6 separate regions of the Homo sapiens genome follow, and regions 1, 2, 4, 5 and 6 are each linked to region 3. The links are contacts of gene promoters, found by promoter capture Hi-C in blood cells and fetal thymus (Javierre and others, 2016). All regions are on one chromosome and are shown on one strand. Each heading gives the region's core, a stretch centred on a gene start or on the middle of the fragment in contact. The rest is flanking DNA. Distances are from core to core; before and after follow the strand shown. Region 1 has its middle 3.0 kb from the start of ZNF396. Region 2 overlaps GALNT1 (polypeptide N-acetylgalactosaminyltransferase 1). Region 3 holds the start of SLC39A6 (solute carrier family 39 member 6). Region 4 overlaps INO80C (INO80 complex subunit C). Region 5 overlaps KIAA1328. Region 6 overlaps FHOD3 (formin homology 2 domain containing 3).

Region 1 (4,528 bases), core at 33-2,532, 750 kb before region 3:
GAGGATCACCTCAATCTGGGGAGGTGGAGACTGCAGTTAGCCATGATTGCGCCACTGCCCTCCAGCCTGGGCTGCAAAGTGAGAGCGTCTCAAAAAATAAATAAATAAATAAATTTAAGCCTAAATGCACCACAGCCCCACCTCGTGACTTCCTTCTCTAGCCCCTTTCCCTAGGGACTCCTGGAAAATGTACTTGTACTCGTAACTGAGGAATTAGGGAGAGGACGGAGATGCTTGAAAAGCACTTGCTAATTAATAAAGAACAATAACAAAAAATCCCTTTTGGTATGACGCCGCCCCAAAAGTATGTTAGTACTGGAATCTGAAGTGAAGAAAGAAGAGGCTGGTTTACTCAGTTTATGACGCTAGGGGACTAGGGAGAGGTTTGGATCCCAATTAGAGTACAGTAAAACTAAATCTGAAGAAATTCTTGCTTCAAACAAGGGGCTTTCACAGGATAAGACTTTTTGCTGATGCAGCTGCCAACACAAATAGCAAACAGCCCAAAAGTGCAGGTGGGAATGTGTTTCTGGCGCTGGTGGGTAGGGTAGGTTAAATGACTCACGTCAGGGGAGAATTTGAAACGAGGGCAAGGCTTGGCAGTGGTGTGAAGTCACAGGAGACAATTTAAGGAGAATATGAACGACAGTCAGAAGCTTCAAGGAGAAGGAGGAACTGTGGGATGTGGCAAGAGGTCAGGGATGATGAATTCATGGGTATGGTCCACCAAACAGCCAGATATCAGAGGCCAAAGTTAAAAACAGCAACAACAAAAAAGGGAGCAGACATAAAAGATTGATTAGAAAAGTTTCACAGTCAGGTAGTTAGAGCAAGAACAGGTTTTTGTTTGCTGTTTTAATTTTTTAAAAATTTTGGGGGTAAAGTGAAAAGAAATTAGCAGGAATAAGGTCCCAGTAGGGTGAGCACCTACTATATACCAGTTGTATCGTAAACACCGGGAATTCAATGGTAAAATATAGATTCTTGCCCTTTAGGGGCTAATAGACTAAGTAAAGAGAAAGATGAATAAATTGACTTTTCTAAACAATGTGGCAACATTCTGATGGAGACAACTGCAGGATACTATAAAAGCACAAAGAAAGGGAGGTCCTGGGTAGAGACTGGGATTGGAGTTGATGGAGAAAGCTGGTGTTGATACATTTGAGACTGAGGTACCAGTGTGGGATGTTGTTTAGATTTGCTGGATTAAAGGACAGCAGGATGAGTGGCTGAGGATGAGGCTGAAGAGGCAAACAGCAGCCTAGTTTTAAAGGGTTTGACAGGCCAAGTAAAGGGCTATGAACTAAGGTTTTAAGCAGAAACTTGAATTAGTGGCATGTGCACATCTGCAATTCAGGTAGGGCTCTCTGATAGCAACACGAAGGATAGATCTGAAGGGAGGCAAAACTCAAGACAGGGTTACCAGCTCTGAAGCTGTTGCAAAGATCCAGGCTGCAGCTGGTGAAGGTCTGAACTAGCACAGAGGGGACGAGAATGGAGGCAGATTCTGGAAACACTTGGGAGGCTGGTGCTTGCTTAGATGGAAGACTGACAGATGATTGGGTACATAATGTGTCATTCAGGGAAGTTAAACAACAGAGTATGTTTGACAATGGCTTATGTGGATATTTGAGGGGATTTTTGGGTAGACTGGATCAGAAGCTGAATGGGATGCTATCATCAATAACTGCACATAATTGGACATTTTGTGTGATCATGTGAAAATAAATATCAAACATGTTTTATATCTGAATGCTTCCCTTATATAGGTATGTAAAGATCTCTATGACTTTTATGAACCATTTCTAAGGCAATCACTCTACAATGACATTATAGAGACATTTATTTCTCAACTTTGTACTCTTCACCACTCCCTTCATCCCAACATATTTGCTCTCCACCTAGGTAGAAGCTTTTAGGGGCATGGATCTGTGTCTGTCTAAACACATAACCCTTGTTTTTTTTGACCCGAGGTGCATGAAGTGGATGTATTATACACAGCTGCCATGTTTCTATAGGATAAGGAATTAGAAGGTTAAGAAATTTAGGTTGGCTCAAGCATGGTGGCTCATGCCTGTAATCCTAGCACTTTGGGAGATCGAGGTAGGAGGATTGCCTGAGCCCAGTAGTTCGAGACTAGCCTGGACAACATGGCAAAACCCCATCTCCACAAAAAAATACCAAAAATTAGCTGGGCATAGTGGCATGCACCTTTGGTCTCAGCTTCTTGGGAGGCTGAGATGGGAGAATCACTTGAGCCCAGGAAGTCAAGGCTGCAGTGAGCCATGATCATTCCACTGCACTCCAACTCGGGCAACAGAATGAGACCCTGTCTCAAAAAAAAAGAAACTTAGGTTTATAAACACTGCATGTTCTCACTTATAAGTGAGAGCTAAACATTGAGTACACATGGACACAAAGAGGGGAATAATAGACATTAGGGCCTACTTGAGTGGGGGGTCGGGGTTCAAAAACTACCCACTATGCCTATTACCTGGGTGATGAGATAATATGTACACCAAACCCCCATTCAGTTAATCTGTATAACAAGCCTCCACATGTACCCCAAAACTGAAATAAAAAATTAACAAAAATAAAAACTTTAAAATTAAAAAAAAAAGAAATTTAGATTGAGCAATAAAAAGCAATTTGCCTACAATGGAACTATGGTTTCCAAGCAAGTGGTGGATGGGTTGTATGTGTAGGAGTCCAAGTGTGGGTACACACTTGTCAACCTGAAATAATAAAAGGGTCAGAATCCAGTTTTAAAGAGTTTATTCAAACAAAAAGCTGGGAATAGCCATTCCAGGACACACAGACTCCAGAGAAATGGGATCAGTGCTCCAAAGTTAAAAGTTAAATCTTGCTAATATAGGAAGAAGACAAAGAAATTTATCAGGATTGCAACATTTTCTATACAAGGCTGGCTTAATAGTTTCAACAAATTAATTAGTTAGTTTGTTTTCTTTTCCATATAGCTTGTTTTCTTTATAGTTGGTTTTCATTTGGTTTCCAATTTAAAAGAGTGTATTTAACATTCTATCTTAAGTCAATGTGATAGTCAAGAAGTCTGTGTGTGAGAAAGGTAAGAGAAAGGTGAATCTATAATAAAGGCCAACAGTGGAGAGGGAAGGGGTCTTCCTCTTCCCTTTGGCCATATATAACATTTTACAAAACAATGCAGGTAAGGGAAAAGGCTTCATCTGTAATCAGAGAAACAGAAGGTTATAGCTCCCTAGTTTATAGGTGCCTACCATGTGACTCAGGATCAGTAATAACATTCTTCCAAGTCCTAAAATAATTTAGAGTTCTAGCAGCTTAGATTTCGAATGACTCTTTTTCACACAGTGAACAGATATGAGAGTTTGTGTGAGGGAACTAGGGGAGCTCTCTCTCCCTTAGTGGAAGACGTGAATAAAGTATCAAGTTGGGAAAACAATTAAGGAAGTGTATTAGTCTGTTTTCACGCCGCTGATAAAGACATACCTGAGACTGGCAATTTACAAAAGAAAGAGGTTTAGTTGGACTTACAGTTCCACATGGCTGGGGAGGCCTCACAATCGTGGCAGAAGGCAAAGAGGAGCAAGTCATATCTTACGTGGATGGCAGCAGGCAAGAGAAAAGAGAGCTTGTGCAGAGTAACTCCTGTTTTTAAAACCATCAGATCTAATGAGACCCATTCACTATCATGAGAACAGCATGGGGAAAGACCCGCCCCCATGCTTCAGTCATCTCCCACCGGGTCCCTCCCACAACACATGGGGATTATGGGAGCTACAAAATGAGATTTGGGTGGGGACACAAAGCCAAACCATATCAGGAAGTATCCCAAACTGAGTTCATCTTCTCTCTCCATCACCCTCAATAGGCCAAATTCCTTGCTTTGATAGTGAAACTGCTGTTAGCTCTATGTTCCAGGCAGTAAGTCTTAGGAGTCATCTTACACATTTTTCTTTCCCTTGTTTATGAAATCCAATGTGGTCTCAAAGTCAACAGACAAACCTGGGTTCACTCCCCAACTCTGCCGCAAGCTACTGTGGGTTAAGTCCTAAAATTCTCTAATCCTTATTTCCTGATTATAAAATTGGGATCATAATAATCTGAAGATTAAATGAAATAATGTAGCTAAAGCTCCCCAGGTGATTTCAGTGGGCACTTGTATTAGCTTCCTGTGGACACTGCAACAAATTATCACAAATCTGGTGGCTTAAAACAACAGAAATATATTTCCTCACAGTTCTAAAGGCCAGAAGTCAGAAACCCATTTCACTGGGCTTAAAGTGACAGCATGCAGGGCAGTCCTCCTTCTGGAGGCTCTAGAGGAGAATTCATTCCTTTCTTCCTCCAGCATTTTTTGGCTGTCAGCATTCCTTGGCTTCTGGCTGCATCACTCCAATCTTCAAGGCCAACATCTTCAAATCTCCCTCTACGTCCTTTTCATAAGGATGCATGTGGTTGCATTTAGGTCCCACCCAGATAATCCAGAATAATCTATCCATCTCAAGACCCTTAATTTAAACACATCTGC
Region 2 (4,867 bases), core at 1,551-4,050, 540 kb before region 3:
CGCTGGTGATCTGACCGGAAGGAGGTGGAGCTCAGGCAGTAATGCTCGCTTGCCCACTGCTCACCTCCTGCTGTGTGGCCAGGTTTCTAACAGGCCACAGACTGGTACTGGTTCATGGCTTGGGGGTTGGGGACCCCTGTATGGAGCGATTAATGTGTGCCACACCCAGTGCTGTAGTCTCAAGATAACTGGGGGTGGATAGCATTAAATAAACATGCAAATAAGTACATAAATACAATTTGTGATTATTGCTACACATTAGCAGTAAAGGATGCTGGAGAGATTGTAGGTGGGGGAACTTCAGGTTGGCTGGGTTGGGGAGGACGGCTTCTCTGGGTATGTAACATTTAAACTCCTGCACCTGACTTTTGGGGACCCTTCAGAGTTACCCTCCACATTTCTTATCCCATTTTTATGTTATTTCACAACCCCCGACACATGCCTCTTTCTTCATAGGCACTTTGCTTATTTCTGGCTCTGTACCTTTTTATGTGATTTCTTCTCCTTCCCAAGATGTCCCCTTCTCCACCTCCACTTGTGGAAGTGCTACCTGTTTTTCATAGATTTGCTCAAGGTCTTTCTCCTTGATGAAGTTATTCACTGTTGATTTATGCCTCTTGAGTGTATGGTGTTTAAGGGTAGGGATAACAGTTTACATTTATATCTGTGTGTCCTCATTTAGTCCTCAGTTACCTGGTTGCTTCCAATGGTATCATTTTGTAAAGCTATAGTACAATTTCCAGACCTGTAATAGTCACATTGAAACAGTCAAGATAGAGAAAATTTTCATGGCCACAAGATTTCCTTATGTTTTTTTGTAGCCACACCTACTACCCTTCTACCTCCACCCCCTCCTTAAACTCTGACAATTACTAATTTGTTCATTTCTGTAATTTTGCCATTTTAAGAATGTTTTATAAATGGGATAAGTGTCTTTTGGAATTGGCTTTATTCACTCAGCATAATTCTCTGGAGATTGATCCAGGTTGTTGCATGTATCAGTAATTACTCCCTTTTCATTGCTAAGTAATATTCCATAGTATGAATGTACTTTTACGGATCTTTTAACCATTTACCTGTTGAACATCTGGTTGTTTCTAGTTTTTGGCTATTGTGAATAAAGCTGCTGTAAGCTTTTGTGTATAGGTTTTTGTGTGAACAGAGTCTTTATTTCTCTGGGATATATGCCCAGGAGTACACTTACTGGGTTGTGTGGCAGTTGCATGTTTAGTTTTTTAAAAAACTGGTGAGCTGTTTTGTAAAATGTTCTAGCATGGCTGGAACATCCCAAAGTGCCGGGATTACAGGCATGAGGCACCACGCCTGGCCTGTCACCATTTAGCCATTCTGATAGGTGTATAGGGATGTCTCATTGTGGTTTTAACGTGCATTTCCTTAAAGGCTAATGATGTTGAACACTTCTCATGTGCTTATTTGTCAACTGTATATTTTCTTCAGGGAACTATCTTTTGTTCATTTTCTAATGGGATTGTTTGTCCTTTTTACTATTAACTTTTGAGACTTGTTTATTCTTTATATATTCTAAATACTGGTCCTTTGTTGGGTATGTTGTTTGTCTGTAGCTTGTCTTTTCATCCCCTTAATAAGGTCTTTTGCAGAGCAAAAGTTTTAAATTTGTTGAAGTCCAGTTTCTCAGTTTATTTTTTTATGGATCATTCTTTTTGGTGTCAAGTCTGGGAACTCTTTGCCTAGCCCTAGATCCTGAAGATTTTTCCCTTGTGCTTTTTTTCCCTAATAGTTTTGTGGTTTTTACATGATCCAGTTTATGAAGCTGAGATTTAGGTCAAAATTGTGTGTGTGTTTGTGTGTGTGTTTATGCGTGTGTCTATGGATGTTCAGTTACTTCAGCACCATTCCTTGAAAAGGCTGTCATTCCTCCGTTGAATTGCCTTTGTATCTTTGTAAAAAAGCATTTGGAGCTGGGAGTGGTGGGCATGGGCATGGGGTAGACTGATTCCTCCTACACTTTTTTTCCCCCGTTATTTTAGCTGTTCTAGTTCCTTTGCTTTTCCTTATAAATTGTAGAATAATCTTGTTTATATCTACAAAAAAGGTCTTTCTGGGCTTTTGATACAAATTGCAGTAGACCTGTATCAGTATGGAGAAGATCGACGTCTTTAGTATGTATGTTGCATTTTTCAATCTGTGAACACAGGTTGTCTCTCCATTTATTTAGATCCTTGATTTCTTTCATCAGCATTGTGTAGTTTTATCATGCAAGTCCTGTACATATGTTTTGTTAGTTTTTATTGGATTTGTTTTGTTACATTTGTAAGTAAATATTTCTTTTTATATTTTAGTAATTGTAACGGTATTTTTAATTTTGGTGTCCATGTACTCATTGCCAGTATGTAGAAATATAATTAACTTTCATATGTTGATTTTGTATTCCACAATCTTGCTGAACCTACTTATTAGTTCTAGGAGTTCTTCTGGAGATTCCTTGGGATTTTCTATGCAGACTACCATGTTACCTGCAAAGAGGAACAATTTTATTCTTTTCCTTTTTAATCTGCACACTTTTTCTTGCCTTTTCTTGCCATGTTGCACTGGCTGAAATATCAGCACTATGATGAATAAGAAGGGTGAGAAAGGACAGTCTTTGTGATCTTGGGGGAAAGCATTCCTTCAGTCCTTAACTATGAGGTATAATGTTAACTATAGGATTTTCATGGATGCTGTTTATCAAGTTAGGGAAGTTCCTCTCTGTTCCTATCTTCCTGAGAGTTTTTATCATGAGTGAGTGTTGAATTTTATTGTGTTTTTTGTTCATCAGTTGATCTGATCATGTGATTTTTCTTCTTTAGCCTGTCAATATGGTGCATTGTATTGATTTATTTTTTAAATATTGAGCCAGCCTTACATCCATGGCATGAAACTTGGTCACAGTATAACACTTTTTGTACATATGTTGCTGAATTCCATTTACTAATATTTTGTTAAGGAATTTTGCACTTAGATTCATGGGGGCATTTAGCAATGTTTCCCTCTCAGCACTGTTTTCTCTGTGTTCCACACCTTTGTTTTATTTTTATTTCCATTCAATTCAATGTCTGTTTTTATTTTATCTTGGGACTTCCACTTTGAGCCATGGTATGTTGAAGAGGGCTGTTGAGATTCCAAGTATTAGGAAATTTTCCTTTCATCTTCTGTTTTCGGTTTCTAGTTTGATTCCATTTTGGTTGGAGAGCACACTCTGATTTCAGTTCTTTTAAATTTATTGAGGTTTGTTTTACAGCCCAGAATATGGTCTGTCTGTGGGCCCCTGAATGAAATGTGTTTTCTGCTCTTACATCCTGTTGGTTGATGATGCTGTTGAATTCTGTGTCTTTGCTTGTTTTTGTCAAGGCATTCTATCAACTGTGGAGAGAGAAGGCCAGTTATTTTCTCTGGTTATGGGACTCTGTGTTGATAGTTCTTTCAGCCCTTGAAAAAATTATACCACTTTCTTCTGGCTTCCATGGTTTCTGAGGAGAAATCCACTGTCATTCTAATAATTTTTCCTCTGTAGAAAGGAATCGTTTTTCTCTCACTGTTCTCAGGATTTTTTCTTCGTCTTTAGTTTTCGAAAGTTTTATTATGATACATTTCGGTGTGGATTCCTTTGGGTTTATACTGCTTGGGGTTCACTCAGATTCCTAAATCTGTAAGTTTATGTCACTTGCCAAATTTAGGAAGTTTTCACCATTACTTTTTTGAGTACTTTTTCAGCCTGCCCTCTTTCTCCTCTTCTTTCAAGACTCTGATGACTGGAATGTTCAGTCTTTTGTTATGATTCCACATGTTTTTGAGGCTTTGTCAATTTTTCTTTAGTCCATTTCTCTCTTATTCATATTGGGCTCTTGTCTTCCAGTTCCTTTCCTGTGTCCTTCCCTCCCTTTCTGCTGCTGAGTCTTTTTATTTTGGTATTTTTCAGCTCTAAAATTTGCTTTAGGTTTTTCTTCATATCTTGTATTTCTTTGTTGAGGCTTTTTGTTTATTTATTCTTAATTTGTTTCAAGCATGCTTGTAATTATTGAAGCATGTCTATCACAGCTGCTTTAAAATTGTTGTCAGATAATTCTAACATCTCTCTTCTTGGTGTTGCTGCCTCCTGATGTCTTTTTCATTCAGTTTGAGTTCATCCTGGCTCTTGGTATGATGAGTGATTTTTAAATGAAAACCTGGGTGTTTTTATATTATACTATGAGATTCTGGATCTTACTTAAGCCTTCTGTTTTAGCTCGCTTTGTTTTGATACCACCCTGGCGGGGGAAGGTTGGTGGGGAGGGCACATGGCACTGTCTAGTGATCACTAGAGGAAATTAGAAGTACAGGCTCCCCACTTGGCCTTTCTTGACCCAAGAGGTACAGTATCTTGTTTCCACCAGGTGGGAGTAGAGGTCCAGGATATCCGGGGGAGAGGGTGTATGTGGAAGGGTGCCTTGTTACCAGCTGATGTAAATGAAAGCTTGGGCTCCCTACTTGGCCTTCTCAACACCACCCTGGTGTGTGGGAAGTGGGTGCCTTATTATAACCCGGGGAGTACGTGAAGTCTAGGCTACCCACCTGACCTTTGTTGGCATGGGTCGGGGTAAGGCTACAGTTTTTTTCTGTGATGTTTGTCTGGAGTAGAGTGGTTTTTTTCCTATCAGTTTTCTGTCTCAGTAGGATGTCCCTTTCTTGGTCTTTTGACTTTTTTTCCCTTCTGCTTCTGTTAATGTTTCCAGGTTTCAGATTGCTGCCATTTTCAACTCCAGAAAGCTGGGATATATGAGGCAAAAATAAGTCTCAGGGAACTCACCATTTTATTGTTCCTTGCAGCCTGAGGTCCCTAGCCTTCTTCTCTCCACAGTTAAGAATCTTC
Region 3 (4,335 bases), core at 1,836-4,335:
AAAGCCTTTTCGGGGCTCACTCACAGATTCATTTGTTTTCCTACCAGCCAGCCGGCTCACCCGGCTCTTTGATGTGACACTGGGTGGAGTGGAGCTGCTTACATCTTTGGGGAAGAGTTTTCCAGGTCTTGGAGTCTCTATTGTCTCTAGAAAGTGAGTTCCTTCAGAGACAGTGTTGTACACAGTTGAGGTCACTTCACTAGCACTAACACTGTCCTTGACATTCCTTCTACCACTGGCATGTTCTGGTCGGTGAGCTCCTTTCCCCTGGCTGTTTCTAGGATCTTTACCTGAACTATCTGAGTCATGGTCTGGGCAAAGAGCTTTTCGCTTATTTTTACCAGAAGCAGCATGATTATGGTGAGAGTGATGATCATGGTCAGAGTGATGCTCGTGCTCTGAGTGATGCTCATGGTCTGAGTGACGCTCATGGTCTGAGTGATGCTCGTGGTCTGAGTGATGGTCGTGGTCATGGTGTATATGGATTCTTTTAATCTTATCTATGCCTATATTTTGAAGTAATTTTCTGAACCCTTCAACTGACAAAGAATTATTTTCTCCATAGCGGTAGAAAAGCTGTTGTAGATGATATTGCCGTGTGGAAATTGCCAAGTCAACATTAATGCCAGATTCCCAATTCGGACTAATTTTCTCAGTGGTCTGGGGGAAAGCAGCTGCTTTTAGTTCATGAAGGGGATTTGTGACAGAGAGGGCAAAGGTCAGGATCAAGATTACAGATAACTTCCTCGCCATTGCGCCTTCCTAGAAAAGACAGGAAAAAAAAATTCTTGACTCACTTCTAAAACAAATTGAATTAAGAAACCTCATACTGAAAATTAATGTGTAATCAAATAATCAAAGTTGCCAGAGCATCATGTGGTGTGACCAGTGTGACGCTAGGTACTGTGAAGATGGAAAGAACTAGAGTCCTAGGCTCTACCCTTGCATTCCTAAAACACATGAAACAACTGGAGAAGAGCTGAGTGCTAAGAGACTGCCATTAGCACTGTAAAAGCAATAGTAATTCAGAGACAAGGGAGATCCATGTGGCCACAGCCATCAACTGCTTACTGAAGTTGAGAATTTATTTGAACGATTATTTGAATCATTGAGGCCAATGATTCATAATTAAATCTAGGCTGGGTGTGGTGGCTCATGCCTATAATCCCAGCACTTTGGGAGGCTGAGGCAGGCAGATCACCTGAGGCCAGGAGTTTGTGACCAGCCTGGGCAACATTGTGAAACCCTGTCTCAAAAAAAAAAAAGAACGAAATGAAATCTAGCTACCTTGATCATCACCATCATTTCATAAAATAACCTTCAAACACCAAAAAATAGAAATAATAATCTCAGAATTCACATATTTAAAAAATTTTAAACTAATACACTCTCCTTACATACAAGCCCATTTAAGACCCCTTTCCCCAATCACAATCCTCAAAGGTGCTCAATTTTGCCAGTGTATCCCTCAGGATATTTTCTATGCATACTCAAATACATGTATACTTAATTTTTTTTTTAAAGTTTTTTTTTTTTTTTTCTAGAGACGAGGTCTCACTATGTTGTCCGGGTTGGTCTTGAACTCCTGGCCTCAAGAGATCCTCCACCTCCAATTCCCAAAGTGCTGGGATTACAGGCGTGACCACTACGCCCAGCCTCAAATAAGTGTATACTTTAAATACACATTGAATCTTTTTTCCGACTTGACAATGAATCAGACACATTATGTCCATACATAGAATTCTTAAAGTAAACTGAACTTCATGAAAAACTCACTGTAGCATCCTTGTGTTACTACAAACCAGTCAACATTTAATCACAGGCTGTTAATCATCCACAGTAGTGTTTGGAACCAAAGGCCTGTGCCCCAAAGAGGAGGAAGCAATTGAGTTGGAGCTTGAAAAGCAGAATTCAGTTAAGCAGAGCCAGAATTCAGTTAATTCAGATCCAGCAGGATGTCCAGCACCAACGGTGGAGGTGATGGTGGTCAAACTCACATCTCCAGCAAAAGACGCAGACGTCAAGTTTACAACTAAGCAAGAGCATGGGGCTATCCAGCTCTACCACGGTCAGCTGTTCTTTGGACAGGGCTCTCGCATTCATTACCTTATCTAAAATACCGGTAAAACCTATTTTGCAAGGCGAAGGAGGAAAACACATGAAGGAATGTATATTACAAGTACTCGTTAAACTCATGTGTTGCACAAGTGCGAGGTATCATACAGGGAACAGTGGGAAATGGAGGTACGGCGTAGAACGAGGCTCCTGAAAGAGGAATCTTTGGGGCTTGAAGTTTCGGGAATTCTTTTACTAGGTAAAAGATAAACATTTAGAAATCATTCCCAGGAGAGAGGCGAGGAGCGGGGTGGGAGGGGACTAGCACAGGGGACAGCTCCGAGCCTTTCTCCAGGGAGGATGCTGAGCGCGGTCGTGGACCCGTTGAAGGATCTCCTTTCCTGCAAGTTGGTGTGTGCTGGAGGAAAAAGGAAAGCAGAAGGGAAGGGCCTTAGAGAAAAAGGCGAGTACAGAAAACGGAAAAGAGGGCACAAAGCTCTCTTCTAAAAGCTTTTTATTTCTAAACACGTCAGTCCCTTCTTCGAATATGGGATGAAAAGTACGGATCTTTTCCTCAAAAAATCCTCCGTTGCACCCCGAAGCCCATCTGAGCACCTTAAGAAGTCCGGCTCTCTAGGGTGAGTGGGCGCCTGCGGCGGGCTCCCCCCAGCATCCTCTTTCTGTAGCCCCCCTGCCCGGTCCGCAGGATCCGGTTCTCCGCAGAACCACCCCTACCCCGCCACGCCTGTCTGGCCTGAGGAGCTCCCCTCCCAGCCGCCCTGCTCCCGGACCTGAAAGACTCACGTCTCCGCGGCCTCGTTGTCCCACGGCCCGGCCACGCGCGCAGGTTTGGTTCCACACGGGCGGTCCAGAGGGCTCGGAACGGGCCCACTGGTGTCTTCGAGAAATCTCTACCAGGCGCGAACACGCGGTGGTTTCATTGGGTTGGCTGCCCCTCGGTCCGGGGGCAGCGCCGCGCAGCCACCCGGCAGCCGCGCCCCTAGCCTTCGCGAAGCTGGAAGACAATCACTAATTACCGCCGCGCGCAGCGCCGCGGGGAACCACCGCCCCCTTCGCCCAGGACTGCAGGGCATGCGCAGTGCGACCCCGGAACCCGGCTCCGCAGACGGATCCGCTTTTCCGTGTGTTCGCCGACGCCGCGGGGGCGTGGCGCGGCCCTAGCGCATTGTAAGCAGTTGGGGGTCATTTCCTCGAGGCCCTACTCGCTAGCCAGCGCCCCCGGGGCCAGCCCTGGCTGCTGCTGGGAGCCGGGTCGTAAGGGGCAGCGAGATGTTTCTGACGCTGCCCCAGGCACATGAGCCCCGGGTCCTTCGGGAGGGTCCCGAGCCACTCGGGTCGGATTTCGCTCTTGAGACAAAGGCCTGGCTCGTTCGCGGAGCGGGGCCACGGTCCAAGAGCAGAGCTAGCAAAGCGGCGGCCTTGCACAGGGGTTCCAGCCTGCGGTGGGAACGGAGAGTCTCAGGGGGGCGGGGCTGCCTCCGTCTGGCCCTCGGCTGGCTGCGAAACGTGGACTGGGTGATGCCTCAGGAGAAACCACCCTAGTAGTTCCGCTCCGAGGGCGGAAGTGCGCGTCTCTTGTTTGTGCGGCTGACCAGTTGGCGACATGGTGGCACCCGTGCTGGAGACTTCTCACGTGTTTTGCTGCCCAAACCGGGTGCGGGGAGTCCTGAACTGGAGCTCTGGGCCCAGAGGACTTCTGGCCTTTGGCACGTCCTGCTCCGTGGTGCTCTATGACCCCCTGGTAAGAGAGGTCGCTGGACGGCCGACCCTTGTGCTTTTCGGGTTGAACCTGTGGACGTGCTCCGGGCGCGCTGTTAGTTGCCGCCCCAGACCTAGGAGGCGAGTCGGGTCGGCTCAGGGGAGCGGGGTTTGGGCTCGGAGTCTCCAGTGGACCTGCCGGACTCGCTCCTCACCCCTCACCCTTTGCCGTCTCACGCGTGGCGTCATCCTAGGGTCATTGCTGCCCATGAGCTGCTAGTAACCTGTTAGTCCCACGCAGAAACCCGAATGATAAGCATCTTACCTGAAGCCTTCCTTGGGAACTGTAGTACCGTTAATCAATTTGGGTTTTAAAACAATTGAAATTTATATGTAGATTAAAACCATCATCCCACAGGTGCAATCTCATTTCAGTATTTCCTTCAGTTTTGGTTAATGAACTTTTGTTGTATTGAATTTCAAGGAAATGTTACCTGTGTTTTAGCTACGGGAATGGACATTTTAGAGAAAGTGTCAGTTTGGGGGAAAGGTCATAGGGGA
Region 4 (4,809 bases), core at 1,164-3,663, 640 kb before region 3:
TTTTCTTCCACTCCAGAGATGTTCAAAAACTGCATTTCTTTTTTTATTATTTTGTTGTTGTTGTTGAGATAGGGTCTCGCTCTGTCACCCACGCTGCAGTGCAGTGGCACAATCACAGATCACTGCAGCCTCAACCTCCTGGGCTCAAGCCATCTTCTCACCTCAGCCCCCACTCATGAGTAGCTAGGACTACGGGTGCACACTACTATGCCCAGCTAACTTTTGTATTTTTGTAGAGACAAGGTTTCACCATGTTGCCCACAGTGGTCTCGAACTCCTGGACTCAAGTGGTCTGCCCACCTGGGCCTCCCAAAGTGCTGGGATTCCAGGTGTGAGCCACTGCGCCTGGCCAAATACTGTTATTTCTCCTTTTCAGTTTATTCCACTTCCCCAATCCCAGTGAGGAAGCTCAAAGGTGCTGTGTGCCCAATGAAAGGAAAGCAATACAGGGGGATTCTTCTGACATAGGCGTTTAGTTCCAAGGCCCCAGGGAGACAGGGGAGAAAAATGCCAGACAGGGGCCCTCGTTAGATTCAGGCAGACAAGCACGTCTGCTGAGAGTAAGGAGAGGGTGGTAATGAAGAGAGGACCAGAGGTCTAAGTCAGCCATTCCAGGCAGCAAGCTAGAGAAGAGTCAAGAAGAGGATGAAAATGACACACGGAAGCACTGGTTTTTGAAAGGGACCCCTCCTGCCGGCTTGCTCACTCCATCCTCTGCCAGACCCCCGCTGGGAAGTCAGGCTGAAGAGAGGGCAGAGAAAGGAAGCCACCCTGGAGTGAACTGAGCCACATCATACCAGTGCTGCCTCCTGCTTCTGAGATTGTGGCAGGCTCCCTTCCTTCTCTAACCAGAGACACCCCTGCCCCAGGCCAGAGCTGGTTTTATGCTTCACTTTCCTCTCCCCCGACCCCCACATTACTACACCCTTAGCCTAGCTGAGACTCCTGTGTCTACTAACAACAGGATGAGAGGGAGACAGACCTTTAGTCAAAGGGAAGATCAAGTCTGTGAGGCTTGGATGCAATAAGATAAAATTAAAATGATGCATCATTTCCATATTACTAAAGCACTATTATCACTAAGGACTTTACAAGATGAACTGTCCCGCCCCAAGATATGAACACCCTAAGAGGAGAGGAAGGAACGCCTAGCACTAAGGGGCGCCCCCTCTTTGCAGCACTAACAGAGCTGATGTAAGTCTCAGGGAAGAGAAATCCAGCCTGCTACTCAGGAAACACACGCCTATGCTAATAGACTGGAGTTCACAAGGCCTGGGTCTCGCCCTGCTCTGCTCTGCCCAACTGAAGAACCCAAATCAATGGCTTCATCTCTCCAGACAGTAGTGTGCTTGACTCTGAATCAGACTAAAGGATAATTTGGACATTCTGTCTGTGGTTACAAAGAAAGGAGAAAAATATCCTTTGTCTTATTACTGAAAAGTCAAATGTCAAGTTATATCTATGTCATAGAATTATAGATGCAAATAGCTGACCCTGGTCTAAAACTGCAAGGTTACTATAGGGTTACTTAAAACAGCAAAAATTCAAAATGCAACCTCAATATCCAATAATAAAGTCAATTAAATATGAGTAGTTAATTCCTTGGAATATAATGCAGTCAATAGTCATAAAAGACTATTTGACTTTTAAAAGTCTAATTGAGAAGACTATCAACACATAGAAATGTTCACAAAATAATGCTAAGTGAAAAACGGGGCACGTAATACTATATACCAAATATAATGATGAAAAACTGTATCTACATGTAGAAAACACAAATTATAATAGTTGTTGGGGAAGGAGATTGGGTGACTTTTTATGTCAATTTTAAAAATGAAAAAAAAGGTAATTTTAAAAATAGAAAAGAATAACTTTTAAGACTTAAAATTATCAGGATTTGTTGAATTTTTACTTTTGTGTTTTACAAAAGTTGAATAGTAGGATGACTATTTTTTCAATGAATAAACCAAATCAGTCCAGCATTATCTGGCTGCCCCTCCAATTACAGAAGATTCTCTCATTATCTGCCCTATCCTCCTAAAGATGCAACTACTGCCTCTCCACTTTAGATGTTTTATTAGCTGCTTCACAAATGAAGAGGCTATTAAGTAACTCTCAGTCTATAGGTTAATTAGATTTCTCAGTACATTTTATCAACTTTAATACACATTTGAAAAGCCTAAATTACCCTATATTGATTCAGTAAAACTGTTGCCAAAAGCATTTCTCTGTACCATGAATTTGGTTATACCAGAGATCTAATTAATAATCTTCTAATATACAAAGTAACAGAGTGATATCAAGAGAGGCAGTTAAGAAAAAAGAATGTAGACTCTGGACGGCATGCCTGGGTTCGAATCCCGACACTAACACTGTGTGAGCTTGGGCAAGTTACACAGTCTCTCTATGCTCTTGGCGTTTTTATCTGTAAAATGAAGTGATCAATTCACAGAGGGTCGTTTGGAGAATTAAATGACATAGTACTTAGAAAGTACATAGAACAGTGCCTGGCATGTAGTAAATGCTTGATAAATATTAATTACTATTATTTATCCTTATTCCTTTCACTTTAACAGTTATCTGTTCCCCAACCCACCAAAATTAATCCCTTCAAAGTAACAACCAGAGTGAATGGAAGACTGCACTTTCATAACATTATTAATCAACAACTGTTATAGTGAAAATATAAATCCACAGAATTGTGATTCTAAGATGATTTGTACCACCCCTTAGCAAGCATGAACATTAGTAGTAATTTCTGCTGAACTAGAGAGAGCCATCTTGATGAAATGATAAAACAAAGTTGTTTTTGTACTACTAAATTATTTAATAGTATTTCCTAACACTGATGTAAAGAAGGCTTCTATAAATGCTTTTCTCAGAATACTTTTAGCTGAAAAATATTCCCTTCAACTCCTCAGGACTTCTAAGCATCTAAATTTCTAAACTTCTTTAAATTTCAACTAAGCACTCAATTTTACTTTAGAAACAGCAAGCATATTTCAGGAAAGTTAAACCCACCTTAAGAATCCATGATAATTCAAGTTATCTTTAACAATCTCAAAAGGCACTCTAATGTCCTACACGTAAATGTGCTTTGTAAATTTTAAAATTCCATGAAAGTTTTACATACTTTGCCTTTACTTAAGAATCAAAATAGCTAAAATTACTGACGTAGGGAAATTTACGTGATGAAAGACCTATAAAATCTCCTCTAACTCAAGAAATACAATCATTTATAGAAAAACACTCACTTCCCCACTAAGGGAACCTTGGGCAACCTGGGTTAATCTCACAATGAGCACAGCTCTGAACCTGGAATGCCTTCTCCAGCAAACCTCTCCAAGCCAACTTCAAGTCCCTCTGCCTCCCTACCTCTCCTTTGAGTACCATCACCAGCACTGAGGAATCATCCTCCTGTGTCTCACCACAATAGGGCACCAACACCTATAATTACCTATAATTAGCTTTGGCTCAAGGTTAGACATTACTATATCTTCCTAATGGTTTCATTTGTGTGATAGGTAGAATTCCAGTACACCCCTGCTACCTTGCAAGTACTCTGCCCCTGGTGTGCACACAATTTCTCCGAGTTATTCAAGCAGACACTAATCTAGGTGCAGCTACAAAGGGGTTTTGCAGATGTAATTAAGGTCTCAAATCAGCTGACTTTTAAAAAAGGTGATTATCCAAGTAGGCCTGCCTAATCACATAAATCTTTTAAATCTGAGTCCAGGGGTCAGCAATAAAAGAAGTCTGAAATATCTGAAGCATGAGAAGAATTGGACACAAGGGAGATTCTCCATAGCTGGCTCTGAAAATGGAAAACGCCATGTGGCAAGGAACACGGGCAGCAGCTGACAGCCAGCAAGAAGACAGGGGCCCTGCAGTCCTGCCGCCCCAAAAGAACAGAATTCTGCCAACAACCTGAATTCACCTGCATGCAAATTTCTCCCCAGAGCCTTCAGACAAGAACTCGGCTAACACTTTGATTTCAGCTTTGTGATACCCAGAGCAGAGAGTCAACCCAGTTGCATTGTGTCAGGACTTCTGACCTACAGAACCATGAGCTACTAAATGAGTGTTATTTAAGCCACTAAATTTGTGATAATTTGTAATGACAGCAGTAGAAAACTAAACACAATGTATATACGTCATTCTCTCCTGGGATGTTTTTGGTAGTGTGGGGACAAGCTATAATCCTTTGAAATGTCTTAAGCATACTGCTGGGGATGGAACAGAAACAGTACAATAAATTACTGCTACATGAACTGAACTGAAACAGAACAGAAAGGTTGGGCAAGTGACACAGATGAGGGTGACCTCAAGAAGATTCCTGGCAGCCCTCAGGGGTACTGTGCTTATGCCTGCTTATTTCCTATACGCTGTGAAAAGGGAACTAGAATGAAAGGATCACAGCAAGGCAAAAATCTAAGACAACCGGGCACAGTGGCTCATGCCTGTAATCCCTAAACTTTGGGAGGCCAATGTGGGCAGATTGCTTGACCCCAGGAGTTTGAGACGAGCTTGGGTTATGTGGTGAAATTCCACCTCTACCAAAAATACAATGGTGGCATGCACCTGTCGTCCCAGCTACTTGGGAGGCTGAGGTGGGAGGATCCACTGAGCCAGGAGGTCGAGGCTGCAGTGAGCCATGATTGTGCCACTGTCCTCCAGCCTGGGTGACAGAAGAAGACCCTGTCTTCTTTAGTAAATATCAGTTGGGAAAAGGAGAGTCAGGACAAAAGAAGGCACTATTTCATGAAATGCTCTGCCCTTTCCAGCTTCTCCTGAGGCTGCTGCTTGGAT
Region 5 (4,551 bases), core at 1,543-4,042, 710 kb after region 3:
TTTTTTCTCATTCTATGCATTGCCTTTTCACTTTTTTATTGGTGTTCTTTGAAGCACAGAAGTTTAAAATTTTGATGAAGTTCAGTTTATCTAGTGTTTTCTTCTGTCTCCTTTGCTTTGGTGTCATATCTGAGAAATTGTTGCCTAATCCAAGGTCACAAATATTTGTGCCTATTTTTTTTCTAAGAATTTTAAAGGTTTTACTCCTACATTTAGTTCTCATTCCATTTTGAGTTAATTTTTGTATATGGGGTGAGGTGGTAGTTTAACTTTATTCCTTTGCATGTAGATATCCAGTTGTCCCAGCACCATTTGTTAAAAAAACTGTCCTTTCCCCTTTGAATTTCTTGGCACCCTTGTCAAATATCTGTTGACCATAAGTGTAAGGGTTTATTTTTGGACTCTCTGTATTCTGTTCCATTGATTTATATTTTTATTTTTGGAATTAGGAAGTATAAGTCCTCCAACTTCTTCTTTTTCAAGATTGTTTTGGCTATTTTGGGTCCCAGTGTTTCCATAGGCATTATAGAATCAGCAAATGTTTTATACTTTTTGATGTTATTAGAAACACAGTTGTTTCTGAATTTCACTGTTGGATTGTTTATTGCTAGTATATAGAAATTCAGTTGATTTGTGAATTGATCTTGTATCCTGCAACTTTATCAAACTATTTCTAATCTAATAGTTCTTTTGTGAATTCCTTACCATTTTCTCTATATAAGATGAAGTTGTCTGTGAATAGAGATAGTTCACATATTCTTATTGGATGCCTTTATTCCATTTTGGATGCATTTTATTTTAATTGCCTTTTAAAGAAATTTTACAAATGCAACAGAAGTCTTTTAAATCTACTCATGTAGTTACCATTTCTGGTGTTTTCATTCTTTCACGTGTATCCAGATTTCCTAAAAGACTTCCTTTAACATTAGTTCAGGTATGCTAGGAAAGAATTTTTTCAGCTCACGTATGTCTGAAAAGTCTTTATTTCTCTTTCCTTTTCAAAAGATATTTTTGCTGGTTATAAAATTCTGAGTTGATAGTTTTATTCATTCAGTGCTTTAAAGATGTTGCTGCACTGTTGCCTGGCTTGTATTGTTTTTAAGAAGTTGGCTGTCATTTTTATTCCTCCTTATTTTTCTGTGTGTATGTGTTTAAATATGGCTGCTTTTAAGATTTTCTTCTTATCACTGGTTTTGAGCAATTTGGTTATAGTATACCCTGGAGTAATTTTTTTTTTTGAGGTGCAGAGTTGCTGTGTCGCCCAGGCTAGAGTGCAGTGGCACGATCTTGGTTTACTGCAACCTCCGCTTCCCAGGTTCAAGTGATTCTCCTACCTCAGCCTCCTGAGTAGCTGGGATTACGGGCGTGCACCGCCACACCCGGCTAATTTTTGTATTTTTAGTAGAGATGGGGTTTCACCATGTTGGTCAGGCTGGTCTCGAACTCCTGACCTCATTATCTGCCCGCCTCGGCCTCCCAAAGTGCTGGGATTACAGGTGTGAGCCACCATGCCCATCCTACCTTGGAGTAATTTTTAAAGTATCTCTTTTGTTTGAGGTTTGTTGAGCTTTTTGGGACTGTGGGTTTATAGTTTTCATCAAATTGGGAAATGTTTCAGCCATTGTTTCTCCAGATATTTTTGTTTCCCTCTCTTTCTAGTGACCTTAGTTGCACAAATACTAGGCCTCTTGAAGTTACCCTCTCAGCTCTCTGATCCTCTGTTCATATTTTTTTCATTAAAAAATTTTTTTGTTTATCCTTGGATAGTTTGTATTGCTGTTGCTATGTCTTCAAATTCATTAACCTTCTGCAATGTCTAATCTGCCACTAATCTCATCCAGTGTGTTTTTCATATGAAACAATGTAGTTTTATCTTTAGAAGTTCAGTTTCAGTCTCTTATTTTTGTTTACATCTTCCATGTCGCTACTTGACATGCTTTCTTCTAGGTTCTTGAACATATGGAACATAGTTATAATAACTGTTTCAATATTCTTGACTATGAATTCTATCATCCAAGTCATTTGTGGATAGGTTTCAATTGAGCAATTTTTCTCCTAATTATAGGCTGTATTTTTCTGCTTCTTTGCCTGCTTGGTTGTCTTTTATTGGATGTCACAAGACAGTATGCATTTTGCCTTTTTGGGTTCTGAGACAGTGATAAATTATTTGGAAGCAATTTGATTCTTTCCAAGCTTCATTTTGAGCTTTTAAAGGTGGTGCCAGAGCAGCTTTTAGTATAGGGGTAATTTTGCCCATTGTAGGCCATACTCTTTTGAATACTCTTCCTGATGCCCCTTAAATTACAAGGTTTTCCCCTCTGGCTGGTGGGAACAGACTGTTCTCCTATGCTGTATTAGCTACAGAAATTGTTTCCACTGTTCATTTTGGGCTCTTTCCCCGGGATGAGTAGTTTTCTCACATACATATGCTGGTCAGTGCTCAGTAGTTGACGCGAAGGGATTCTGCAGATCCCTGGAGCTCTCCTATGCAGCTCTATCCTTGGCATTACTTTGCCCTGCAAGGTTTCTAGTGTTTCTGCAAACACTAGAAACCTTGGCTTTCCTGGACTCCCAGCTGTATCTTTTCAACTCAGGGAGATTGCTGGGCTCTGTCTGGATTTACCTACCTTAGCCCTGAAAACTCTCCACAGCAGTTAGCTGGGACAGTTGTAGGGCTCGCCTTGTTTGTTTCTGCAATTCCAGTGATCATTCTGTGTTGCCTGCTATCCAATGAAAACTATTGTTTCCTGTTTTTTTGTCAGGTTTTTGTTTTGTTTTGTTTTCTGAAACTAGGGTAAATCTGGTCCCTGTTACTCCATCTGGGCTAGAAGAGGATGTCCTACATTGTCGGGGGTATATGTGTCTATGTGTGCTTTTTCTTAAAACTAGAAATGGTGGTTTGCTTTTTCTTTTCCTTTTTTCCATTGAAGAGCATGTCTTGTGATTTTTTTTTTTTTTTTTGACAGAGTCTGGCTCTGTAGCCCAGGTACAGTGGCATGGTCTCGGCTCACTGCAACCTCTGCCTCCTGGGTTCTGGTTCAAGAAATTCTCATGCCTCAGCCTCTCAACTAGCTGGGATTACAGGAACGCACTACCATGCCCAGATGATTTTTGTATAAACAGAGATGGGGTTTCACTATGTTGACCAGGCTGGTCTTGAACTCCTGACCTCGTGATCCACCCACCTCGGCCTCCGAAAGTGCTGGGATTATAGGCATGAGCCACTGTGCCCAGCCATCTTGTGATTTTTTTCTCTGTGTAGTCTTTGTTGGTATTGATGTTGAGTATCCTTAATTCATTAAGGATTTCACAGTGGTAATTAGGTCAGTTCAAGTCTTCTGGGAAGCAGACCGCGAGATGGAATTAGAAATGGAAGAGATTTAATGAAGGAAAAGCTTATAAAGCATAAAGAGTAGAATGAGCAGGAATCTTCAGATTTCACTACAGTCTGGCACCTGTGACAGGAGAGGAAAAGAAGGAAGATTGACTAGGAAGAACCTCAGACTTCAGATTGCCATGCAATCTGAGATAAGTGTCCTTTTTGCTAGTGAGGAACCCCAGAGCAAATACTGCCTTTTGAGGATGCCATTTGGATCAGAAATAGCTCAGTTCTAGTGTCTCTACTGTTCCCAGTCATTGGTGTTGGTATGAACAGTGCAGTGGATCCCAAAGGTTTGGCAACTGGAGGCTGTTAGCTGATTATACTCTGCAGCAAGTTCCCTCTCTCTTTTGTGGCCATATTGCTTTATTTTTTACAGTTAAGCCTACTATTCATCAGGAAGTAATATGCACATGTAGTGTAAAGTAAGATTCACTGCAATTCAGAGAGAAAAGAATCCTCTTCCCAATAGATGGTGTTGGGCCCATAGACTGCCAGTATTGGGTCAATAGACTGTCAGTATTGGCCCAACACCATCTACTGGGAAGAGGATTCTTTTCTTCTTTGAATTGCAATGATACCATTGTTGTAAGTCAAGTGACTGTAGATATGTGGCCTTTCCTCATCATGTTTTCTTCTTTGGTAATTCGTATCCTGAACTTTATAATTCTTTTGTTTTTCCATATCGGGGTTCGCCGACTTTTTCTATAAATTGGACAGGTAGTAAATACTTTAACTTTTGCAGGCTGTAACATCTGTCTCAACAACTCAACTCTGCCACAGTAGCATTAAAAGAGCCATAAGCAATATGCAAATGAATGAGCACGTTTTAATAAACCTTTGTTTACAAAAACAGCCAGTGGGCCAGATTCGGCTTGCAGCCATGGTTTACCAAGCCCTGTCCTACAGTGTAAATACATTTTTTTTGAAACAGTATTTCATATATATTTGGAACTTTATATAAATGAGCTCATATCCATTTGTATTGTGTGATTTGCTTTTTATTTCATATTATGTTTATGAGATTTCTTGTTTTTTTTTCCCTCTATGGCTCTTCCAATGTTACGTGAGATTTCTTTATGTTGTATGTAGTTATATTTCATTTCTTTTCACCGTCTCGGGGTTTAGTCAGTTATTTTAACTTAGAATATTTAAAAGAAAAATTATTGAAT
Region 6 (4,361 bases), core at 1,482-3,981, 620 kb after region 3:
TCTTTCACCTTCCTTAAGCCTATACAGAACTTTTTAAAACCTGATACTTTTATCTGCACATGAACCCTCTCCCAGCTTGTGTCAGTTTCTGCTTTGATATTCATACTCCCTGGGTCTCCATTCAGACCACTGAGAAAATGGCAAGTAGTTTTTAAAGTTGGACGGGACAAAAATAAGAAGCAGAATCTTCCCTCCAGGTTGACAACTATCCGTCAGTCAGTTCTTTTGGAATTTAATTGTTCAACTATAAATCTCCCTGACTATCTATCTAGACCTTCTGGCTGTCCTTCCTTCCTCAAGGGAACTTTTAGGATATTTTGTCAGATTTCTTACTGAAATCAAAGAGGCAGGGAATGTGAGCTGGTTTGGCCCTCCATGCTTTGTATGATGCAAGCAATTCCCCATTTAAAATACACGCACGCGCACACACACACACACACAACACACACACACACACACACACACACACACACACACGGAGAGAGAACCAACTATTATTTGGAACGTCATGAAACTGGAGTAATTTTATGAATGTCTTATAAAGCTGTTGAGCTTGGTTATGTTAACCATTTTATCCCAGACAGATTAAAAACTCAGTTTGGTGGTGTGTCTATTTCTTAAGCTATAAAGTATTTGCTCTGATTATCCCATTCTCCTTGGTAAGCTGGTCACCCAGATGATGGCTGCTCCCGCCTCACCTGTCCACATCCTACTGGGGATGACCAGGAGGAGCCAGAAGTTCACTGTGGTTTTGGTGTGGGTAGTAAAAGGGGCGTGGCTAAAGGGAGGTGGTACCCGGAAGTGGCCAGTCCAAAGTATCTAAACCGTAGAACCCTGTGTTCAAATGAAGTCTTTAGCTGGAGCGCTGTATGTAGAACTGATTAAAGCAGGACTCTCTTGTTGAAATTGAGATGGAGGACTGAGAGCCCCAAGGACTGTGCCTCATTTTTCCTTCCCCCTCCCACCAACAGTCCTCAGGATCATAGCTGAGGATGGCTGTGATTTTTTTTTTTTTAAACTTAACACATTGGGAAACTGAGGCACAGAAAGGACCCTATTCAGGGCCTTACAGCTGGTAACCAGAGGGATCATCTTAGTCATGCAAATGAGCCTGCCTAAATACTTATATTTTGATGTCAGATCAAAAAGTTTCAAAAGGTGTCTCTTTGGGTAAAACCTACTTTTTGAAACTGTTTCCTGGCTAAGAAAATTTTGTTTTGGATGTTCAAACCTGCATTTGTTTTAACTTTTATTTTAGGTTCAGGGATACATGTGAAGGTTTGTTAACATAGGTAAACTCATGTCATGGGGGTTTGTTGTACAGATTATTTCATCACCCAGGTACTAAGCCCAGTATCCGATAGTTATCTTTTCTGCTCCTCTCCCTCCTTCCACCCTCCACCTTCATGTCCAGTGTCTGTTGTTTCCTTCTTTGTGTTCATAAGTTCTCATCATTTAGCTCCCATTTATAAATGAGAACATGTGATATTTGGTTTTCTGTTCCCGTGTTGGTTTGCTAAGGATAATGGCCTCCAGCTCCATCCATGTTCCCACAAAAGACATGATCGTGTTCTTTCTTATGGATGTATAGTGTTTCGTGGTGTATATGTACCACATTTTTTTATCCAATCTGTTATTGATGGGCATTGAGGTTGATTTCATGTCTTTGCTGTTGTGATTAGTGCTACAATGAACATTCGTGTGCATGTGTCTTTCTGGTAGAATGATTTATATTCCTCTTGGTATATATATACCCAGTAATGGGATTGCTGGGTCGAATGGAAGTTCTGCTTTTAGCTCTTTGAAGAATCACCATACTGCTTTCCACAATGGTTGAATTAATTTACACTCCCTCCAACCGAGTATAAGTGTTCCTTTTTTTCCACAACTTCACCAACATCTGTTATTTTTTGACTTTTTAATTATAACCATTTTCACTGATGTGAGATGGTATCTCATTGTGGTTTAGATTTGCATTTCTCTGATGATCAGTGATGTTGAGCCTTTTTTTTTTCCATATTCTTGTTGGTCACATGTATGTCTTCTTTTAAAAAGTGTCTGTTCGGGGCCGGGCATGGTGGCTCACGCCTGTAATCCCAGCATTTTGGGGGGCCAAGGTGGGTGGATCACGAGGTCAGGAGATCAAGATCATCCTGGCTAACACGGTGAAACCCTGTCTCTACTAAAAATACAAAAAATTAGCTGAGCATGGTGGTGGGCACCTGTAGTCCCAGCTACTCAGGAGGCTAAGACAGGAGAATGGCATGACCTGGGAGGTGGAGCTTGCAGTGAGCCGAGACAGTGCCACTACACTCCAGCCTGGGAGACAGAGGAAGACTCCATCTCAAAAAAAGAAGTGTCTGTTCATGTCCTTTGCCCACTTTTAGTGGGGTTGTTCATTTTTCTCTTGTAAATTAAAGTTCCTTAAAGATGCTCGACATTAGACCTTTGTCAGATGCATAGTGTGCAAAAATTTTCGCCCACTCTATAGGTTATCTGTTTACTCTGTTGATAGTTTCTTTTGCTGTGCAGAACTTCTTAAATTTAATTAGATCCCATTTGTCAATTTTTGCTTTCATTGTGATTGCTTTTGGTAAATTTCGCTGTGATTGCTTTGTCAGCCTGTTCCTATGTCCAGGATGGTATTGCCTAGGTTGTCTCCCAGGGTTTTTATAGTTTTGGGTTTTACATTTAAGTCTTTAATCCATCTAGAGATGACTTTTGTATATGGTGTAAGGAAAGTGTCCAATCTTCAACATTTGACTAGCCAGTTATCCCAGCACCATTTATTGAATAGAGAGTCTTTTCCCCATTGCTTGTTTTGTCAGCTTTGTCAAAGATCAGATGGTCATAGGTGTGTGACCTTATTTCTGGGCTTTCTATTCTGTTCCATTGGTCTATGTGCCTGTTTCTGTACTAGTACTATGCTGTCGCAATTACTGTAGCCCTATATTGTAAAGTTGGGTAGTGTGATGCCTCCAGCTTTGTTCTTTTTGCTTAGGATTGCCTTGGTAATCCAGGCTCTTTTTTTGTTCCATATGAATTTTAAAACAATTTTTTTCTAGTTCTGTGAAGAATGTCTTTGGTAGTTTGATAGGAATAGCATTGAATCTGTAAACTGCTTTGGGCAGTATGGCCATTTTAATGACACTAATCCTTCCAATTCATGAGCATGGGATATTTTCCATTTGTTTGTGTCATCTCTGATTTCTTTGAGCAGTGTTTTGTAATTCTCATTGTAGATATCTTTCACCTCCCTGGTTAGCTGTATTCCTAGGTATTTTATTCTTTTCGTGGCAACTGTGAATGAGATTGCCTTTCTGATTTGGCTCTCAGCTTGACTGTTGTTGGTGTGTAGGAAAGCTAGTGATTTTTGTACATTGATTTTGTATCCTGGAACTTTGCTGAAGTTATCAGCTGAAGGAGCTTTTGGGCTGAGATGATGGAGTTTTCTGGATATAGAATCATGTCATTTGCAAACAAAGATAGTTTGACTTTCTCTCATCCTATTTGAATGCGCTTTATTTCTCCTTCCTGATTGCCCTGACCAGAACTTCCAACATTATGTTGCATAGAAGTGGTGAGAGAGGGCATCCGTGTCTCCTGCTGGTTTTCAAGGGGAATGCTTCTAGCTTTTGCCCATTCAGTATGATATTGGCTGTGGATTTGTCATAGATGGCCCTTATTATTATATTTTGAGGTATGTTCCTTCAATACCTAGTTTATCGAGTGTTTTAACATGAAGGGTGTTGAATTTTATTGAAAGCCTTTTCTGTGTCTATTGAGATAATAATGTGGGTTTTGTCTTTAATTCTTAAACGTGCATATTAACCTTTCCTTTTATCCTTTTGTACTCTCTGGATGTACAGACCCACCCACTCACTCCTGTAGATTCATTAGGCTACAGTTGCACTGTGAAAGGCACAGAGAGGGACTGGGGAGAGGAAGAGAAGAAAGCTGTTATTAGTCGATTCTCATGCTGCTAATAAAGACATATCCGAGACTGGGTAATTTATAAAGGAAAGAAGGTTAATTGACTCACAGTTCTGCACCACTGGGGAGGCCTCAGGAAACTTACAATCACAGTGGAAGGGGAACCAAACACGTCCTTCTTCACATAACGGCAGCAAGGAGAAGTGCCAAGCAAAGCGGGAAAGCCCTTATAAAACCATCAGATCTCGTGAGATCTTACTCTCACAAGAACAGGATGGGGGATACCGCCCCCTATGATTCAATTGTTTCCACCTGGTCCCTAAACAATGCATGGGAATTATGGGAACTACAATTTAAGATGAGATTTGGGTGGAGACACAGCCAAACCATATCAAAAGCCTTCCTGGGAGGCCTAGCAAACTACAGCA

The links. Contacts are between HindIII fragments. The CHiCAGO score rates a contact against its expected background, and 5 or more counts as called.
Region 1: a fragment that was not itself captured here is called in contact with the fragment with the promoter of SLC39A6 in region 3 in 1 of 17 cell types (monocytes); the score reaches 6.7 in monocytes.
Region 2: a fragment that was not itself captured here is called in contact with the fragment with the promoter of SLC39A6 in region 3 in 1 of 17 cell types (total B cells); the score reaches 6.0 in total B cells.
Region 4: a contact is called between a fragment that was not itself captured here and the fragment with the promoter of SLC39A6 in region 3, in 1 of 17 cell types (naive CD8 T cells). The highest score is 5.5, in naive CD8 T cells.
Region 5: a fragment that was not itself captured here is called in contact with the fragment with the promoter of SLC39A6 in region 3 in 1 of 17 cell types (total CD8 T cells); the score reaches 5.3 in total CD8 T cells.
Region 6: a fragment that was not itself captured here is called in contact with the fragment with the promoter of SLC39A6 in region 3 in 1 of 17 cell types (erythroblasts); the score reaches 5.2 in erythroblasts.

Annotation. Positions count from the first base shown.
Region 1 is chr18:35,378,042-35,382,569 of GRCh38, forward strand. No RefSeq gene overlaps it. Among named protein-coding and RNA genes, the nearest start is that of ZNF396, 3.0 kb to the left of the region's middle. The HindIII fragment of the contact is 1,256 bases long and covers 655-1,910 here.
Region 2 is chr18:35,584,795-35,589,661 of GRCh38, forward strand. All of the region lies in intron 1 of GALNT1 (polypeptide N-acetylgalactosaminyltransferase 1), which reads left to right. Among named protein-coding and RNA genes, the nearest start is that of MIR3975, 4.5 kb to the right of the region's middle. The HindIII fragment of the contact is 3,338 bases long and covers 1,132-4,469 here.
Region 3 is chr18:36,126,255-36,130,589 of GRCh38, forward strand. SLC39A6 (solute carrier family 39 member 6) reads right to left here and starts at 3,086. Exons shown (of 10, transcript NM_012319.4): 1 at 2,860-3,086; 2 at 1-762. The coding sequence starts at 753. ELP2 (elongator acetyltransferase complex subunit 2) reads left to right here and starts at 3,645. Exons shown (of 22, transcript NM_018255.4): 1 at 3,645-3,817. The coding sequence starts at 3,680. RefSeq lists enhancers at 2,884-3,389, 3,012-3,306, 3,337-3,526, 3,390-3,895, 3,687-3,896. The HindIII fragment of the contact is 4,684 bases long and covers 2,564-4,335 here.
Region 4 is chr18:35,490,709-35,495,517 of GRCh38, forward strand. The region is part of intron 1 of INO80C (INO80 complex subunit C); the gene reads right to left. Among named protein-coding and RNA genes, the nearest start is that of INO80C, 4.8 kb to the right of the region's middle. RefSeq lists enhancers at 1-650, 651-1,312. The HindIII fragment of the contact is 4,983 bases long and covers 1-4,809 here.
Region 5 is chr18:36,837,515-36,842,065 of GRCh38, forward strand. All of the region lies in intron 3 of KIAA1328, which reads left to right. Among named protein-coding and RNA genes, the nearest start is that of KIAA1328, 11 kb to the left of the region's middle. The HindIII fragment of the contact is 1,202 bases long and covers 2,192-3,393 here.
Region 6 is chr18:36,747,942-36,752,302 of GRCh38, forward strand. All of the region lies in intron 24 of FHOD3 (formin homology 2 domain containing 3), which reads left to right. Among named protein-coding and RNA genes, the nearest start is that of TPGS2, 79 kb to the right of the region's middle. The HindIII fragment of the contact is 7,350 bases long and covers 1-4,361 here.